Linked DNA regions of Homo sapiens: region 1 is linked to region 2. Evidence: promoter capture Hi-C in human tissues and cell types (Jung and others, 2019). All regions are on one chromosome and are shown on one strand. The core of a region is centred on a gene start or on the middle of the fragment in contact, and the rest is flanking DNA. Distances in the headings are between cores, read along the strand shown.

Evidence for each region. Contacts are between HindIII fragments. The study calls those that stand out against the background at their distance.
Region 1: a contact is called between a fragment that was not itself captured here and the fragment with the promoter of AKAP3 in region 2, in 2 of the 25 tissues and cell types used here (H1 embryonic stem cells and mesendoderm cells).

Annotation. Positions count from the first base shown.
Region 1 is chr12:4,367,792-4,373,788 of GRCh38, forward strand. FGF23 (fibroblast growth factor 23) reads right to left here. Exons shown (of 3, transcript NM_020638.3): 2 at 4,803-4,906; 3 at 436-2,992. The coding sequence ends at 2,552. Among named protein-coding and RNA genes, the nearest start is that of FGF23, 8.9 kb to the right of the region's middle. The HindIII fragment of the contact is 4,544 bases long and covers 1-4,273 here.
Region 2 is chr12:4,647,801-4,654,081 of GRCh38, forward strand. It overlaps AKAP3 (A-kinase anchoring protein 3), which reads right to left and starts at 1,251. Exons shown (of 6, transcript NM_001278309.2): 1 at 945-1,251. It overlaps NDUFA9 (NADH:ubiquinone oxidoreductase subunit A9), which reads left to right and starts at 1,314. Exons shown (of 11, transcript NM_005002.5): 1 at 1,314-1,375. The coding sequence starts at 1,327. RefSeq lists enhancers at 676-725, 1,006-1,215, 1,084-1,739. The HindIII fragment of the contact is 5,598 bases long and covers 1,139-6,281 here.

The DNA of each region.
Region 1 (5,997 bases), core at 752-3,251, 280 kb before region 2:
CTGTGTATGTGTTTAGTGCATAGCATTTGGTTTACTGAGATACTGACGTGGTTGTGATGGTGTGTATTTTCCAAATAAAAATTCCCTCTTTAAAGAAAACACGGCTGGGTGCGGTGGCTCATGCCTGTAATCCCAGCACTTTGGGAGTCTGAGGTGGGTGGATCACGAGGTCAGGAGTTCGAGACCAGCCTGGCCAAGATGGTGAAACCCTGTCTCTACTAAAATTACAAAAATTAGCCAGGCGCAGTGGCAGGTGCCTGTAATCCCAGCTACTTGGAAGGCTGAGGCAGGAGAATCGCTTGAACCTGGGAGGCAGAGGTTGCAGTGAGCCGAGATCGCGCCACTGCACTCCAGCCTGGGTGACAGAGCAAGACTCCATCTTAAAAAAAAAAAAAAGAAAGAAAGAAAGAAAGAAAACACTTTAGGGTTAGAATGACCAGAAATCCAATATTGATAAAACTTAAATAATTCTGTCTAGATCAATTAAAATCATTGAGTCTCCTTATGAATGGAAGAAATCTTTGAAAATTTTAAAATTCTAAAATCTTTTTTTCAATTTTGCCTTCTCTGGATTTCCCTAATGTTCCCCTCCCATAATCCTTTTTATTCTTATATTCCGACATGCTTTTAAGTAGTACTACAAAGAGGATAAGCTAACAGAAGCTGAGATAAATTTTATTTTTATTTTAAACAGAAGAAAGGAAAAAGGGGTTACATTTTTATAAATATCTATAAATATAGAAGGATAGGCAAACTTCCAAATAAATAAATAAATACTGCCACATGACGAGGGATATAAGAAATTGTAGGAGCTATTTTGGCTTTGCCATAAAGAAAACCCCTGATGGTAGTGTTGAGTTTGTGAGATTACAACTAGTTTTCCACCAAAATCCTTTTGGGATCTTTCACTGAGGAGCCTCCAATAGCTATTATGCAGGATAATATTTCCAACAGGAAATGAAAACAGAAATATTAAAATATTTGCCATGCATGGCTATATACTATTATACATAGTTTTACTGTTTCAGAATAGGAACCAGTCCTTCAAGTTCAGCTTAAAACCATCAGGTAAAAACAGTTGCCCAACATTTCTCTCATAACCAAAAAGAATAGATCAAAGTATAAGGTTAGTATGTGATGGCAGTGAGAAAAAAAAAAGTGACTGGGAAGAAGCTGTTGTTGAATCGACTTTGCTTGTTAATATACTGTCCTTTAGGTGGTCATTTAAAGAGAGGGAGGAAAATGGAGCCCCCTTACAGGAAGAACCGCAGTAATGGGGTAAGGCTTCATTTAATGCACCAAGAATTTCCAAGGGGATTGAGACCCAGATGTGTCAGCCTAGGAGAGTTTTAACTAATCGAAGAGCCACTGCTGCTGCAGAGCCCTAGAGACCACAGACAAGAGCCTGACCATGTGGTTGTCTTTTCATAACTTCTATAACATGTCCCCTGATTTCTTTCCCCCTGAGTCCTTGATGCCACTTCATTTAGAGAAAAGGACACGATTTTTCAGTCCACAGAAAACCTAACCCAGAGCAGTCCCAGTCTCTCAAAGCCCCCTTCCCAGTCACATTTTTGTAGTTTGTTCAGAATGGATTCCTACTCAACCTGGAAGTAGAGCCTTAATTAAATGCCTCTTAGGAGAGTTGGAATTTATTTCCATTTTGAAAAGCAAATTCTAGCAGGGCAGATTTTCGTGAGCCAGTGTAAAAGCTATTTATTCCTTAGACCAAATTTTCAAAAACCAGAGATGGGGCCAAAAGGTGAGGCTGTATCATGAACTGCTTGGGAACAGAGTGGGGCCATTCTGGGCCCTCTGGCTGTGGCTGCACAGAGGGAGACAGCGAGACAGAAGGTGCTCACCCTGTAGGGAGGCTGAGTTTTCTATTATGATTCCTGCCTCATTTCAGCAAGCATCAAGTCTAGCTGTCAAGTTTTCACCAGCCTACCACCAGTCTTTTGACAGCTCTTCCCCAGAGATGCTCAAGGAAGAACGAAGGCTTGAAAGTAGTGTTTTCATCAACTTGCCCCATTCAGCTGTTAATGTCAAGGTTTGCACACTCAAATGCCAGTGGGATCGGGGCATCTAACATAAATGCATAGGGCAGTGGAGAAGCTTCTGGGATCTCCGATTTCCTCTTCCCTACACCTTCAAAGTCTTGAGCTCAGGAACCCACTGCTTTTTTTTTTTTTTTTTTTTTTTTTTTTTTTTATGCTTAAAAGTGATAAAGAGGAGAGGCACAAGGAAGAGAAATATGTTGGGAGAGACCCCTTCTCTCTACCTTCATGAAGGGGAAATTTCTAGTTTACCTGTTGGGGTTTCCTATTGGGAAAGGTGTTCTATATGGAGTGAGGAAGGCGGTGAAACCCCATGACTTGGGCCTCAAAGGTTGGTTCTCACAGGACCTCCTGTGGAAGGGACCCCAGAGAAGCAGCAAATTCCATACATGCCCCTGTCACCTTTCCCATCCTCGGAACGTCAAGGGACCTGGTCCTTGGGAAGAGCTGCGTTTGCTGAGGGATGGGTTAAAGAGGGTGCCCTTCCAGCGACCCTAGATGAACTTGGCGAAGGGGCGGCAGCCTTCCGGGCCCGTTCCCCCAGCGTGCGTGTTCACTCGACCGCCCCTGACCACCCCTAATGGGTCACTGGCCATCGGGCTGTTGTCCTCGGCGCTCGGGAGCTCCTGTGAACAGGAGGCCGGGGCCGGGGTCATCCGGGCCCGGGGCTTCAGCACGTTCAGGGGGTCCCGCTCCGAGTCGTCCTCGGCGCTCCGGGTGTGCCGCCGTGGTATGGGGGTGTTGAAGTGAATTAGGGGGATCTCGTTCCTCCGGGACAGGAACTGGGAGTACGGGGGTGGGTTCATGCCTGGCAGGAAGGCTCTCTTCGCCCGGCCCAGACTGACCAGGAAGTGATACTGAGGAGAGTGGTAGACGTCGTACCCGTTTTCCAGCGTCTGGTGTTGGAACCTGCAGTTCTCCGGGTCGAAATAGTGCTGGAAGGACAAGAGCGAACCACGTGAAGGCTGGCAGTGGGGGCCCCACCCACTCCCCAGCTCCTCCTGGGGCCACATGCTTGTGCCAGCCGGCCTGAAGCTCTGCAGTTCTTAGGGCGTTGAGCCTTCACCCCTTTGTTCCCTGCTGGGGTAGAGTGGTTTTGATTAATGCTCAAGCCCTGACTATATAGTTCGCCCTTTCAGAGACTACGACTACTGGGGCCTCCGCTTACTGCCTGGAGGCCCGGGCTGGCCTGGCCTGTGGTTTTCCTGGAGTAGGCACCACCTTGTCCTTCCTGCCCTCTATCTTTTCCAAGCCTCTGCTGGCTGAAAATTGGCTTGGGTTTGTCTCTTTACTGGAGAAAGGAGAGGGGATGGAGTTTATAGGGTCAAACATGAATGAGAGCACTGACGGGATTGGAGACATGAACTTTGCTGACAGATGAGCTGGGTTTGAATCCTCTACCACTAGTACTGGGTTTTACTGAGTGCCCCACGAAGGCCTTTGCCTGTTATTTCTTTTAATCCTCAAGCTCCACAAAGTAAGCAGTTTACAGATCAGGACTATCTACATGCCTAGAGGGGTTAACGGATGTTTAGTTAGTTATCTATATTTCAATAGTGGTTCAACAGATTTTTTGTTTGTTTGTTTACCTACTCTAGCCAGACACTATTGTAGGGGCTGGGATGCAGCAGAAAGCAAAACAGAAAGTCTCTGTTCTTGTGGAGTTTCTAGTGGGCATGTGTGGTGGTCAGAGACTCCTGAGATAAGCAGTCCTACTATTTTACTATCTCAAAATCCTCCAAAAGAGGCCAGCAGCCTTTAGTTTGGGAAATCCTTTGCTTACCAATCCGAATGAATAGCTATCACAATTGGGGCAGGGGTTATTAATTAAAAATCTTTAACTGGAGGGAGCTCCACAGGTCACGTGGTCTATTCCACTTCGCTTTTTCCAAGTGAAAATGCTGAAGTTTGGAGAAGTGAGGAGATTTACCCAAAGTCACAGCTAGTCCCAGAATCAAGAAGACACCAATGGCTTTTCACCCTTTCTAATGTACTTTACAACGTGAATTGACATGACTTGAGGACCTACGACTACATACCAGGGCCTGTGCTAGATTCAAAAGTGGGTTCCACAACCCAAATGTCCAACAATGATAGACTGGATTAAGAAAATGTGGCACATATACACCATGGAATACTATGCAGCCATAAAAAATGATGAGTTCATGTCCTTTGTAGGGACATGGATGAAATTGGAAACCATCATTCTCAGTAAACTATCGCAAGAACAAAAAACCAAACACCGCATATTCTCACTCGTAGGTGGGAATTGAACAATGAGATCACATGGACACAGGAAGGGGAACATCACACTCTGGGGACTGTTGTGGGGTGGGGGGAGGGGGGAGGGATAGCATTGGGAGATATACCTAATGCTAGATGATGAGTTAGTGGGTGCAGCACACCAGCATGGCACATGTATACGTATGTAACTAACCTGCACAATGTGCACATGTACCCTAAAACTTAAAGTATAATAATAAAAAAAAAAAGTGGGTTCCAATGGGCAGTGCAGACTAGGGGCTGAGAGCCTGGGATCTGGAGCCAGATTGCCTGAGTTCAAACCCCAGCTATTAAACGTGAGCATTCACGTTTAATTCATACTTAGACTGCATGAAGTATCAGTGGAAACAGGTCACCAGGGTACACTGCAAATGGAATTGTTAAGCTAGAAAAGTCTATGTCGTGTCAAAGAAATTAGGTTAATTGTTTGCAAATGGTGACCAACACAAAAAAGAAACTCACTGATCCAAAAATGTTGCCTCTGAAATCCATGCAGAGGTATCTTCTGCTCATCACACCTGTAATCACCACAAAGCCAGCATCCTCTGATCTGATCATCAGGGCACCTATGGAGAAAAACAGGCAGGGCAAAGACTCATTGCCATCCAATTCCCACCTTCAAGCACCTCCTGAAAACCTACCTTCATGAAACCTCCCTGGATTGATTTTAAGGGTGGTGATAACTTCAGCACTCTTAAATTCAGCCTCATTTCTGCATATTCAGCGTTTCTTCTGACATCCTCTCTTGCCCCCAACACACATACAGTCATTCACCTCCTGCTTCATCTTGTTGCCTGTATGGGGCACTCTGAGCTCCTGGAATTCTTCTACCTGTGCTGAACACATGTTTCTCTCTCTCTACCTGGACCGTCTTTATTTTCCCTTTTGCCTTACTAATACCTTTGAATGTTTGTGGTGATAGTCACATTCTTCCATGCCTTCTACTTTGTGATTTTTAAATCTATGCTGAGATGTCTTTCAAGGATCCAGCTTGCCATAGAGTCTGATTCTCCTCCTGGATGTCTGTGTAATTGTCTAATACATCAGTCAACACCCAGTATGTGTACAGAATGGTAGTAGAGTTGATCTCCCTCTTCCTTCTCTACTTATTGAAGTCACTCACTCTTCAAGACCAGGCTCAGGCGTCACCATCTCTATGAAGACTTTCCTCATCTTTCCATTCAAAATCAGTTGTTCTTCCTTCTCAGCTCCTCAGGACAATGCCTTCACCTCTATTACAGCATGTATTCCATTTAACTTGCTTTAGCTGAGTTTACCTATCCAGTGCGTTCCTTAGAGTGAGCTGCTTAGGAGCAGAGGGTATAACTGTTTATGTTGAATCAATATAAGTGACGGATGGAATTTTCTTCTTGGCTCTTCTTGGGTTGGTTCTTTGTCATTTTCTCACTTGGTGGTGACCTCTCCAGGTGCAGCCCCTCATGGACTTTCAGTGTCCCCTCTCAAAAACTAGTCTCCGACAAGGGCCTGAAACCCATTCACACGACCTACCTCTTAAGTAATTGATAATGGCTTTAAATTACTGTTTTGTGGCAAAGGCACAATTAGATCATATACTGGTGTAACATGCGTGATAATTCAGCGAGATTTCTTCCCCACATGTTATTTAATTACCTGACATTTTCTGTTAAAAATCATT
Region 2 (6,281 bases), core at 1-2,500:
AAGGTTTTTTTCTCTCTTCCAATTCAATTTGTTAGGCGACACTTCAGTAAACAGTAGGGGCAAGATAGAGTGGAAACAGCCAAGATTTCAAGCCTAGTAATAAGCAACTTCTACATCCCTACTCATCACAGGCCTTTTTGTCTATCCCAGAAACACATACTTTTCCTGAAAAAACAAAGCACTGGAAGGATTACCAAGTCTAGAAAGAACCCGCCCTCCCCAAACTAGGTGGTTTTCTGATAAGCCTAAGGTATGTTTCACAGGATCACTGGTTGCCATCTCCTACCCAGCAATCTGGAGAGGTTGACCAGAATAAAGTATTTTAAAATCCAAGCGCTTAGTCTAACCTGGAATTTCCTCAGTTTCTAGATGGCTCTTTGTAGAACAATGCAGATTCTCAAAGGTGACCACAGTTAAAGAAAAAATTACAAGCCATTGCGCTAGAGAGAGCCATCTGCAGTTTCTCCTTAGACAGATGTTCAGATGGCACACATGGCCACTAAATTTGCATAATATTTCAGGAAGTTCACAGATTTCCCGAAGCCCACTCATGAATCACACTTCTGGTTAAGAACTCCTAGATTCATATGCTAGTTGGTGATAAGTGCTTTGGTATATAAACTTAAACCAAAAATTGGTGGAATAATTACCACCTTGGATAGGATGGTCAGAGAAGTTTTATCCGAAGAGGTCACTTTTGAGCAGAGACTTGAGCTGGTGCAGACACCTGAGTGTGCATTCCAGGAAACGCGAACAGCAGGCGCAAGGGTCCCTATGAGAGAATGTGCTTGGCGGGCTCGACGCACATTTATTTACTTGGGACACACCCTATTTTGGTTTCTCTTCTCCACTTTTCCCCTCGTTCTTGTCCCCCCTTTTCTCTCTCCTGGGCCCTGGATCTCCTGAGCGCGGAGGGCTACGCCTCCTTCTTCCTCCGGACTCACCAGGGCTGCCAGCTTAGCTTACATTTTCAGGGAACAGGAAACTGAGAGTCAGGAAAGGTGAGCTCTTCTACCTCGGGTCTTGCCATTTTGCATGTCCTGAGTCAGTCACTGGTTAACTCTGAACTTCAGGTTCCTCGGCAATTAGAGATTATAAATAGCCTATACAGCCTATTCCAGATCTGAGATTCCAACAGCCAAAGTCTTTTCACTTCCTTTCTTCCCCCTCTCCTTCACTTTCCCAGCTTTCTTCTTAACCAACAATCTACCCGAAACCGTCGTTTCTTGGTTAGCGCTTGCGCAGACAGGCGAGAAAGGTAAGTTTTGACCCAGCTTAGCAGCCGTAGTCAGCCGGGAGTGCTGTCGTGGGGGATTGTGGGAAAAGATGGCGGCTGCCGCACAATCCCGGGTTGTCCGGGTCCTGTCAATGTCACGTAAGTGTTACCGGGAACGGCGGCCCCTGGTCGGGATTCCGAGACGGGGATTTAAGGTTTTGGAAGTGGCACCGTGCTGCAGCGGTCACGCCAACTTCCTAGGCACACTCTGGTTTCTCTAGGTTTGGAGCTGCCTCAGTCTGGTTTCTCCTTTCGCTTTCCGCTTCCCCGGCTCACATATTCAATTGTGCACCACCTTGGGAGGGGACAAAAGATCTTAAGCAGCTGTAAGCGAAGAGGAGAATGCGGGGGACACGTTAGGGATCGAGAGAATCAGAATTCTGATATGGTTGTAAGGGTTTAGGGTTATGAGAAATATTTGTATGGGGCGGGGGGAGAAATGTGTAAGGGAGGGAAAAAAGGCTAGTGGCGAGAGGTTTTCTTAGATTGATTTTATGACCTTGTGCAAACCCTTAATGGGTCTCAATTCATATGAGCACAATGGAAATGATAATATTACAATACCAGGGAGTCTCTGATAAGATTAAATGAGCTAATATTTGTAAAAGCATCCTTTTACCCAAAAGCGTCTCTACGGATGTAGAATGTGTTCGGCAAAGTGCGTTGGGGTCTGGGGGAGAGAGTGATGTTTGAGGAGAGAAGAATCAGGAGCTTGGTGGAAAGGAAAGTGAAGAATGAAGGCTATGTTAGAATTTGTTAGCATTATTTAGTTTCTCTTCTGTTCTGATTGGATCTGCTCCCACTCCTCAAACTGAAAACATACATTTGTCCTTCCACTCACTAAAAAGCAAGGAAATTAGAAATACGGTTACACTTCATCATTGTCCTTTCACCCTCTACTCTTCCACAAACATATTCCAATCAAACCCCCAAAGTTGTATTTTTCTTAGTGTATTTTAGTCGTTACAGAATATCATTTGCTTTCAAAATTGGCTCATGTCAGAATCACTCGTAAAGCTTTATAAAAATTAGAAATGAGGACTGAGTGTAGAGCTATTGAGTCAGAATTTGTGAGATTAGCTCCTTGCACCTTAAATTTTTAAAAGCACCACAGATAGGCTTGATGTTCAGCCTGAGGCAAGAATTAGGAGTGTTTAGAGGATCCTTTTTTTTTTGTTTTCCATCTTGGGTAGAACTCCTGCATACCACTGGGAAGGTGGTGGTGCACATCACTTATAGTGGATGGTTTTGTAGTCACAATGTCTTTGCAAAGACATTTGCTGGTTCTTGTTAAACTATTACAATTGTATGACGTAATGTAGATTGTGAATGGTAATCACTATTTATTGAGTACCTGCTATCTGCAATCTCCAGTTCTAGGTATTTTTATTAATTTTCCTCTTTTAACTTACTTTCCTCTGACTGACACCATAGCTTGTGTTCTTAACCACTCTGCGTTATTGTCTGGTAAAGTAAGTTTTTGAGTAAATTCTGTAGAGGCAAGTCTAGTATGTAACATAATCCACACACTATAGGACAGAACTGTGTAAGACAACTATATATAGTTAAGTGTGGCAAGACTATTAAGTATCACAGGAAATCATAAAAGGGAAAGATTAGTATCATTTGAGGTACTGAGGGATGATTGGAAGACCAGTGGAGAATTGTAGTGCTCCCACTGGTCTCTTTAGGGCTGTTATGATCTGGAAAGTCCTCTGGCAAAGACAAGTGGGTGAGAATGGAGTCATGAGGTATTCAAGAGGCAGTGAAATGACTACCTGAATATCTGGGATAGTGGAAAAGGAGGTTGAATGTGTTAGATGGGATCAGACAATGGAGACCTTTGAAAGCCAAGCAGAGTTTAGATCGGTAGTCTCCAAAGGGAGTTGTGCAAGAGGACCTAATAAGTTGTGGAAATATAAATTAGAACTCCTAAAAATTGCTTTCTATAGTAATAATAGCTAACACTTATGTAGTTTAAACTGTATGCCACACACTATTCTAAGTAATGTATGATTTATAATGTGTATATCATATTGGTACTACATAGAACGTGCATATAATTTTTTAAATAAATACTTAAAAAAATTAATGCAGTGTGCAAGCAAATATGTCTGGACTATTGGTTTGGGTATTGCAGTAGGAAACTAATGTAGGTTTTTAAGCAGAGAAATATAATGAATATATAATTAATAAAGAATATCATTCTTCTAATAGTACTCATAATAAATGGAAGAAAGTGGAGAGGCTGGAACCAAAGAGAGTAATAATTTATATTTATTGAGCACCTAGTATTTGCAAGGCACTGTGACAGATGCTTGCCCATATGTTATTCTCATTAACCCTTTAAACTGTGAGCTTCATGAAGCCAGGGTTTTGTATTTTACTGTGATAGTCACAGTTTCTAGAATAATTCTTGGCCCATAATTATTAAAAAAAAACAATAGCCATGTGAGGTTAGTGTGACATTACCTTCTGAGAAATTTCAAAGTAATAAAAGCAACTATTATTCATAGAATGCTTAATGTGCTCTAGGTAATGTGCTACGTGGTTTATGTATGTTTAATCCTCTTAACAGTCCTTTGAGGTATTAATTCCTCAACTCAAGTAATTCTTCCCAGTTCATTGACTCTGCCATCTTTTGCCTGTCTTATCCTATGTCCTCATTTCCTTACTCTTCACTCTTATCATTCCCTTTTATGCATCCTCAACTCCCCAGCCCAACTCCCATTGTCGTAAAAAACATTGACCCTGATTAAACAAAACTTTCCACGTAATTTGCTGCCTGCCACTGAGCAATGGAGAACGGGGCTAGGGAAAACTTCAGACTAACTGGCCTTATTTTAAATTCATGAATACAAATCTCAAGTAGATTTTCAGTGCTACATTTTTCTAGGAAATTTGGTTTCCTTGTCTCCATAATCATTACTTAACATAGCGAGTTTCCTAAAACCTCTAACATGTGCTTTTGTCTCATTCTCAGCTTTACAGAGAAATCAAAGGAATCAGATGAGAACAGTCATTTTCCCACCATAAACTCTAATAGTTGATATGTGATAATTCTTTGCCTTTTCTCTTGTTACAGTGGGTGAGCTCCTTCTGTTCCAATCTGTGGCCAGTTCCTTCACTTTGCATTCAATCTTATCCTCTCTCAACTATTCATTCCCTTTCCTGAATCAGTAATTTTCTACCTCTACCATGGAAATCATGTCATTTCCATCAGCACATAAATGTTAACTCATATTTAAAACAAACAAACAAACCTATTCCTGTCCTTGTTTTCTCTAGTTCCATTTCTCCTTTTTCAGAAGGATTGTGTATACTCCTCATCTACTTCCTTGCCTCACAGCCTCTCTTGTTTGCTCCAGTCTGGCTTTCAGTCCCACTAATCCAATAAAATTGCTCTTATTTATGCCACCTACAGCCACATCCTCCAGCTTCTGTGGTCCTCTGTCCTCTTCCTACTTCACTTTCAGCATTTGGTAAAGTTAACCATTCTCTCCTTGAAACAGTTTCTTATTTTGGGTTTTTAGATTCTGTTTCCTTCTGAGTTTTTCTCCTACCTCATGGGACTGCTTTTTAATCTCCTTTACTAGTGCTTTGGGCTAGTCACTAACCTTATCCATAAAGTGGTGATAAAGATAGCATTAAAAAAGATAATACCTATGCAGCACTTAGAATAATGCTGGACACCTGCCAAGAGCTCTGTAAAGGTAGCTGTTAATATGATGTTATTATTTTGTTATTATGATGTGTGGTCCATGATGTTTACTTTTAATTTCTGTCACTATCAGTGAGCTAGGCTATTTCTCCAATTCAATACTTTTGGATAGGGAAGAACAATGACCTTTGGGCAGAATGCCACCTGAAAGTCATCCCTAGAAACAAACACAGATTTTCTAAAGAAAGTCCTGTTTGTGTCTTTCACCTCTCCCAAGTGTACAAAGCACGAATGCTAAGCTCCGAAGTTTGTTGATTGGAGCAGAAGTGCGTTAGCACTTTAAACCTTTTTGTTTCTACTTACATGAAAGTTGAGCAGCTAACTCTAAAATTCTATTCTAAGGAGTTAGCAATAACTTGAAAACTGGAATGTATCCAAAAGAGATTCTCATTCCTGCCATATGAAGAATATTTGACAGGACAGGGAATGTTTAACCTGGAGAAGAAAATATTTAGTGGGGCTATAATTGCTACACTTAATTGTAGAAGAGGGATTAGACTTGTTCTTTGTCATTCTGGAGGAACACAGGGATAAAAACTTCTGGGAAGCAGTCACTGATTCCCCTTGTGGTAGAACTTTCTTTCTGTTAGAATGGCTCAAAGCAGAATGGGCAGCTACAGGAAGTAGTGAGTTTCCCAACTCCACAGGTGTTCAGGCAAAAGCCAGATGATTTCTTTGCACACATGCTGTAGAGAAGATGTAAGCATTGGTACATGAACTTTGAGGGTTCATTCTAGTACCAAGAACCTCAGTCAATGAAAAAGAAATGGTGGAATGTTTGACAAGTCTCTTGCTGTTAAACTTTCTAAAAGTCAGAATATCTTTTCTCAAGCACTTCACTCCTTTTATCATTATTTGTGATGTTCTTCAGTGGTTTTATAGTAAGTCTGAACTATTGAACTGCATTCTTTTTTTTTTTTTTTAATGTTCTGTACTAATAATCATCTGCTTCCGACCAGTATCATCAACCTTATTTTTCATTAGTCACCAGTTTCAGATTCTGTTCCAGGAGAGTCTTTTGCTGTTGCCCTGTGCTGTAGGCTTATTCATTCTACCTCTGCATTGTGATGTGTTCCTCATGGGATTCTGTCCTTTCTTTTTTTTTTCCTCTTTTAAGACCTTTCTCAAAACATTTTATCCAGGAATACTTCCTCATGGTAATGTGATTTATTGCTCATTTATTACATATTCTCAGTTCCTTTTACCGTATAGGCTTATGCTTTCCTACTTTGTGACTGTTTAATATGTTTTTTAAAAAATGTGACTTATCTTCTTAGGTAAGTT